Regions from separate parts of the Homo sapiens genome. Here region 1 is linked to region 2. The links are contacts of gene promoters, found by promoter capture Hi-C in blood cells and fetal thymus (Javierre and others, 2016). All regions are on one chromosome and are shown on one strand. Each heading gives the region's core, a stretch centred on a gene start or on the middle of the fragment in contact. The rest is flanking DNA. Distances are from core to core; before and after follow the strand shown.

Region 1 (3,493 bases), core at 400-2,899, 520 kb before region 2:
GATGGCTGGGCATGGTGGCTCACAACTGTAATCCCAGAACTTTTGGTGGCCAAGGCAGGAGGATTGCTTGAGGCCAGGAGTTTGAGACTACCCTGGCCAACATAGCAAGACCCCATCTTATTTATTTATGTATTTATTTAGAGAAGGAGTCTCACTCTTGTCACCCAGGCTGGAGTGCAGTGGCGTGATCTTGGCTCACTGCAACCTCCACCTCCTGGGTTCAAGCAACTTTCCTGCCTCAGCCTCCCAAGTAGCTGGGATTACACTCACCTGCCACCATGCCCAGCTAATTTTAGTATTTTTGTAGAGACAGGGTTTCACCATGTTGGTCAGGCTGGTCTCGAACTCCTGACCTCAGGTGATCTGCCTGCCTTGGCCTCCCAAAGTGCTGGGATTACAGGCGTGAGCCACCGCTCCCAGCCAAATCCCATCTTTAAAAAGGAAAAAAACAGCAGGAGCTTCCTGTTCCTCCCCTATGATGCAACTCACTGTGTGTCTAGCATCCATCTGGGCACATCCCACATTGCCCCTGCAGGGGGCAGAAGGGAACCAATGCAGGCATGCTCATGCTGCTTGTTGTGCCCTGAACAGTAAGGTCTTTTGTCTCTGTTTTCTGACAGCATCCATGAAACAATAACAGACCCATTTATTAACCTATAAGTAGGGCAGCCTCAAATTCCAGATCTGACTGTAGGTATTGTTTTCCTTGACCAGATGAGGAAACAGAGGCACAGTGACATTAAATAGCTTGTCGACCGGGCACAGGGTGCACGCCTATAATCCCAGCACTTTGGGAGGCCGAGGCGGGTGGATCACCTGAGGTCAGGAGTTCGAGACCGGTCTGACCAACATGGTGAAATCCCGTCTCTACTAAATGCAAAAACATAGCCAGGCATGGTGGCACATGCCTGTAATCTCAACTACTTGGGAGGCTGAGGCAGGAGAATCACTTGAACCCGGGAGGCAAAGGTTGCAATGAGCCGAGATTGCGCCATTGCACTCCAGCCTGGGCAACAAGAGCAAAACTCCATCTCAAAAAATTTAAAAAAAAATAAATAACTTGTCCAGGATCACATATCTGGGTGACTGTAAAGTCAGCTGCCATGCAATTATTCTAAGACTGTCCTTTAAGATAACTGATGACCTAGTTAACAAATCAGTGCTTCAATTTTTATCTTACATACCTTAGTTTTCCTACTTAAGCTCTCTTGTAACTTAGCTTTCATGCCCCGCATTCTTCTAGTCTTCCTGGTGCCGCTTGTGGCTTCTGCTAGTGCGTACATGTGAGAATTCCTTCCCAGCAAGAAAGAGTCTTGCTCTGTGGCCCAGGCTGGAGTGCAGTTGTGTGATCATGGCTCACTGCAGCTTCTACTTCCCTGAGCTCAAGTGATCCTCCTGCTTCAGCCTCCTGAGTAGTTGGGACCACAGGCATGTGCCACCACACCCAACTAATTTTTTTGTATTCTTTGTAGGGATGAGGTTTCTCCATGTTGCCCAGGCTGGTCTCGAACTCCTGGGCTCAAGCAATCCTCCTGCCTTGGCTTCCTAGAGTGCTGGGATTACAGGTGTGGGCCACCTCGCCCGGCCTTATGTTTTTTCCAAATCCCAAAAATAATCAGTAAAGAAATTGGGAAAATGCAAAAAAGTGATAATTATTTATTATTTGTTTGTTTGTGTGTTTATTCATTTATTATTTTTGAGATAGAGTCTTACTCTGTTGCCCAGGCTGGAGTGCAACGGCAAGATCTCGGCTCACTGCAACCTCTGTCTCCTAGGTTCAAGCAATTCTCCTGCCTCAGCCTCCCAAGTAGCTAGGATTACAGGCGTGCGCCACCACGCCCGGCTAATTTTTTTTTTTTTTTGTATTTTTAGTAGAGATGGGGTTTCACCATGTTGGCCAGGCTGGTCTTGAACTCCTGATCTCAGGTGATTCACCTGCCTCAGCCTCCCAAAGTGCTGGGATTACAGGCGTGAGTCACCACGCCCAGCTCATCTGTATATCTTCTTTGGAGAAATGTCTATATAAATCCTATGCCTGCTTTCATCTTTTTTTTTTTTAATTCTTTTTTTGAGTGGTGTCTTGCTCTGTTGCCCAGGTTGGAATGCTGTGGTGCCATTTTGGCTCACTGCACCCTCCACCTCCCAGGCTCAAGTGATTTTCATGCCTTAGCCTCCTGAGTAGCTGGGATTACAGGTCTGTGCCACAATGCCGGCTAATTTTTGTATTTTTAGCAGAAATGGAGTTTCATCATCTCTGTTGGCTAGGCTGGTCTCGAATTTCTGGCCTCAAGTGATCTGCCTGTCTTGGCCTCCCAAAGTGCTGGGATGACAGTGTGAGCCACCGTGCCCAGCCTCTTTGCCTGCTTTTAAATTGGGTTTTTATTTTTTAGTGGTTGTTGAGTTACCGGAGTTATTTATAAATTCTGAATATTAATCCCTTATTAGACACATGATTTACAAATATTTTCTCCCATTCTGTGGAGTGTCTTTTCATTCTCAATAGTGGTTTTGCTTTTTTTTTTCTTTTGAGATGAAGTCTCACTCCATTGCCCAGGCTGGAGTGCAATGGTGCGATCTTGGCTCACTACAACCTTCACTTCCCAGGTTCAAGCGATTCTCGGGCCTCAGCCTCCCAGAGTAGCTGGGATTACAGGCATGAGCTACCATGCCCAGCTAATTTTTGTATTTTTAGTAGAGATGGAGTTTCACAATGTTGGCCAGGCTGGTCTCAAACTCCTGACCTTAGGCGATCCACCTGCCTCAGACTCCCAAAGTGCTAGGAGTACAGGTGTGAGCCACTGCACCCAGCCACCATTCATTTTAAAAGTTTTGAAAGACACAGTAAAGTTGAAGGACTTTTACAGAGAATACCCATATACTCACCACCTAGATTCTATCACTAACATTTAGTGTATCTGCTTTATCATGTAACTATCAGTTACTCTACCAGTACACTTTGTTTTTGGGTGCATGTAAAAAAAATTGCTGAAATCAGTACACTTCACCCGTAAACATTTCAACATGCATATCATTAACTAGAGCTCCACGTTTGTTTTATATATTTTTTGAGTTAAAAGTACATAAAATGCACAAACTTTAAGTGTATATTTGCTGAGTGTTGACAAAGACGTATACATCTGTAACTGAAACCCCTATCCAAATACATAACATTACCATCATCCTAGAAAGTTGCCTCATGTGGCTGGGTACAGTGGCTCATGCCTGTAATCCCAGTAGTTTGGGAGGCTGAGGCAGGCAGATCACGAGGTCAGGAGTTCGAGACCATCCTGGCCAATATGGTGAAACCCCGTCTCTACTAAAAATACAAAAATTAGCTGGGCATGGTGGCATGTGCCCATAATCCCAGCTACTAGGGAGGCTCAGGCAGGAGAAGCGCTTGAACCAGGGAGTCAAAGATTGCAGTGAGCTGAGATTCTGCCGCTGTACTCCAGCCTGGCGACAGAGTGAGATTCTGTCTCAAAAAAAAAAAAAG
Region 2 (3,619 bases), core at 236-2,735:
CCTGCCTCCATCAGCTAGCCAAATTATCTTCATCCTTCAAGGCCTACCTCCACTCAAAAGCCCTCCCTGATGGCTTTAGCCCATCTCATTATTGCCCTCTTCCAAAAGAAATAGAATACCTGGTGATTATCAAGCACGTATGCTGTACCAAAACACTGTGCTAACCTCATCTCCAGCACCAACTCACTGAATCTTCACAATCATCTTATTAAGTACTATTAATTCTGCTTTACAAATAAAGACACTTAAGATTACTAACACAGCTAGAAAGCGGCAGAGTTCAGATTCAAACCTAGAGCCATCTCACACTGCAAAACCTAGAGCCTTAACCACTACATCATCCTACTTCCCACAGAACTCTGAACTGGCCTCCCTATCGTGCTTAATTCTACCCTGGCTTACTTGCTACGATTTCTCAGGCTCCCACCCTGAACGTGAATGATCCAACTCCACCTTTTTGCATTATGGCCTGAAAAAGGACAGGACACTAAGAGCTGGCTTCAGACCCCATTCCTTACTTGTGGGTAACTTTGAACATGAAAGTTCCCACCTGTAAAATGAGTACAATACCACCAATCTTTAAGGGTTGTTGTAATTAGAAGACTTTTATAAATCACAGGGTCTTTAACTTTCCTGTCTTAAACTTTTGGTTTTTGGCTGACTCTTTTACCACCTCCTTATTCGAGGCCTCTCCCACAGTTCGGCCCCCCTCCAACAAGCTTCCGTCCCCCGACAGATGGACTTGTTTCCTTGAGTTTCCTAAGTACTTTATGTAACACTCTTACTCCACTGGAAACACATCGTCTAATAAACTTTAAGTGTCTTTATCCACTCTGTCTTCCCCGAGCAGGCTAGCTTTTCCTCGAGGGCAGCGGCTCCATCCTGCTCCTCTCTGGGAAAGCTTCCAGAACGAGGCAAGCCCAAAGTTCTCAGTTGGGTTTGCCCCAGGCCAGAACCCGTGGGCGGCGGCTTGGCCTCCCTTCCCCAGGGCCAACGAGCTCACCTGGCCTTAGCGCACAGGGCCTTGACTTCGCTCTCCTTGATGAGCTCGCAGCGACGCAGCTGCTCGATCTGCCGGTCCAGGTCGCTGATCTCCGCCATGGCCCACCCCCGGCGCGGGTCAGAGTCGGGGCCGCCGCCCCCTCCGCACCGCACAGGGGTCTCCTGGGAAAGGCCAAGACGAGCCCGCGGATCAGTGTCCGTCCGGGGCTCGGAGCGGACAACTCGATTCTAGAGCCGGCCCGGCTCCCCCACCCCCGCCTCCCCTCACATCGGCCCCAGGACCCCCCGGCGTCCAACGGCCTGGCCGCACCCCCGCTAACTCCCGTCGAACCCCGCGGTCCCGCGCTAAGGACGGTGACTTAGAGGAGTCTCGCACTATTACCGCCGCTGCGACTCCGGTTCCGGCTCTCCGGCTCCCTGCCTCCCTCTTTCACTCCGCTTTCGACCGCCGCCGCCGCCGCCGCCGCCGCTCCTACTTCCGGCCCCGCCGCGGAAGCAAAGGAGGCCAGTTCCGCCGCGCGCCGGATGTGGCGTCATACACGCTCCTCTCCTTTCGCAGCGACCCCTGCACCACTTCTCCAGCCTGAGATCGGGAAGGAGGTGGAGGAACCCGGTGGCGGCCAGTGGCAGTTTTGTGGGCTCTGCCGCTGGGCGATGTGGAGGCTATTAGAAACCCTAGACCAGTCCCCTCCCATATCATTTCATAAAAATGTTTAAACAACTGTCTTTTCTTTTTTTGAGACGGAGTTTTGCTGTTGCCCAGGCCGGGGTGCAATGGCACGAACTCGGCTCACCGCAACTTCCGCCTCCCGGGTTCCAGCAATTCTCCTGCCTCAGCCTCCTGAGTAGCTGGGATTACAGGCATGCGCTACCACGCTGGGCTAATTTTGTATTTTTAATAGAGACGGGGTTTCTCCATGTTGGTCAGGCTGGTCTCTAACTCCCTACCTCAGGTGATCCGCGCCCCCACCCACCACCACCCTTCGGCCTCCCAAAGTGCTGGGATTACAGGCGTGAGCCACCGCGCCCGGCCACAACTTTCTTTTTTCTAAATTAGAGACAGGGTCTCGCTCTATCGCTCAGGCTGGAGTCGGTGGGGCTATCATAGGTCACTGTGACCTCGAACTCCTGGGCACAAGCTATCTTCCCGCCTCGGGCCTCCCAAAGTGCTGGGATTACAGGCGTGAGCCACCGCGCCCGGCCATCCCCCATTTCAGCTAGGGAAACAAGCCGAGCTGGGGCTAGGCTTTGTAACTTTATTACACTTTTTTTTTTTAACATTACACTTTTTTTTTAATGTTACACATTTTTGTTACTTGTTTTGTCAGCCTTCCCCACCACAGTCCTTGGAGGATCCAACTTTGTCTTTTTAAATATTGCAGCCCCAGTGGTTAGAATAAGGCCTGGCACGGTAGGCATATATAGATACTTGTTAATACTTGTTCAATGGATGAGGGAAGCCAAGTTCAGATCTCTTCCTGTGCCGTCAGAGAAATATTTGCCGTGGACAACTTCAGAAGTTAACAGATTGGAGTCCACTTTTCCCACGCCAAGCCTGTGCCTCAGTCAGCATGACTTCTCTGATTCCAAAATGGCACTCTTGACATTTCTTAGTTGCTTCCGTTTTTCTTTTTGAGACAGAGTCTCACTCTCTCGCTCTGTCGCCCAGGCTGCAGTCCAGTGGCGCCATCTCGGCTCACTGCAAGCTCCGCCTCCCGGGTTCACGCCATTCTCTTGCCTCTGCCTCCTGAATAGCTGGGACTACAGGCGCCCGCCACCAGGCCCGGCTAATTTTTTTGTATTTTTTAGTGGAGACGGGGTTTCACCGTGTTAGCCAGGATGGTCTCGATCTCCTGACCTCATGATCCACCTGCCTCAGCCTCCCAAAGTGCTGTACCACAGGCGTGTACCACCGTGCCCGGCCTCTTTTTTTTTTTTTTTTTTTTTTTTTGAGACGGAGTCTTGCTTTTTCACCCCGACTGGAGTGCAGTGGCACAATCTCGGCTCACTGCAACCTCCGCCTCCCAGGTTCAAGCGATTCTCCTGCCTCAGCCTCCCAAGTAGCTGGGATTACAGGCATGTGCCACGACGCCTGGCTAATTTTTGTATTTTCATTTATTTATTTTTTTAAGACAGAGCCTTCCTTGCTCTTGTCGCCCAGGCGGGAGTGCAGTGGAGCGATTTTGGCAAACCGCAACCTCCGCCTCCTGGGTTCAAGCAATTCTCCTGCCTCAGCCACCTGAGTAGCTGGGATTACAAGCACCCGTCACCACGCCCAGCTAATTTTTGCATTTTTAATAGAGACGGGGTTTCACCATTTTGGTCAGGCTGGTCTCGAACTCCTGACCTCAGGTGATCCACTCTCCTCGGCCTCGGAAAGTGCTGGGATTACCAGCTTGAGCCACCGTGCCTGGCTTCTTAGTTGCTTTCTATTAAGTTTTGTGCCTTTTTTAAGAGGAGGAAACTGGCTCAGAGGGGTTAAATAACTTGTTCATTGCTTGTATAACAGTGGATTGGGGATGTTACACTGAAATTTGAATCCGGGGCTAGGTGTGGTGGCTCAAGCATGTAATCCCAGCACTTTGGGAGGCCGAGGCGAATCACTTAAGCCCAGGAG

What was found. Contacts are between HindIII fragments. The CHiCAGO score rates a contact against its expected background, and 5 or more counts as called.
Region 1: a fragment that was not itself captured here is called in contact with the fragment with the promoter of PPP4C in region 2 in 1 of 17 cell types (fetal thymus); the score reaches 6.1 in fetal thymus.

Annotation. Positions count from the first base shown.
Region 1 is chr16:30,595,381-30,598,873 of GRCh38, reverse strand. No RefSeq gene overlaps it. Among named protein-coding and RNA genes, the nearest start is that of ZNF785, 11 kb to the right of the region's middle. The HindIII fragment of the contact is 4,017 bases long and covers 1-3,493 here.
Region 2 is chr16:30,073,860-30,077,478 of GRCh38, reverse strand. PPP4C (protein phosphatase 4 catalytic subunit) reads right to left here and starts at 1,485. Exons shown (of 9, transcript NM_002720.3): 1 at 1,385-1,485; 2 at 1,004-1,164. The coding sequence starts at 1,101. RefSeq lists enhancers at 872-961, 2,584-2,763 and a silencer at 1,072-1,211. The HindIII fragment of the contact is 10,067 bases long and covers 904-3,619 here.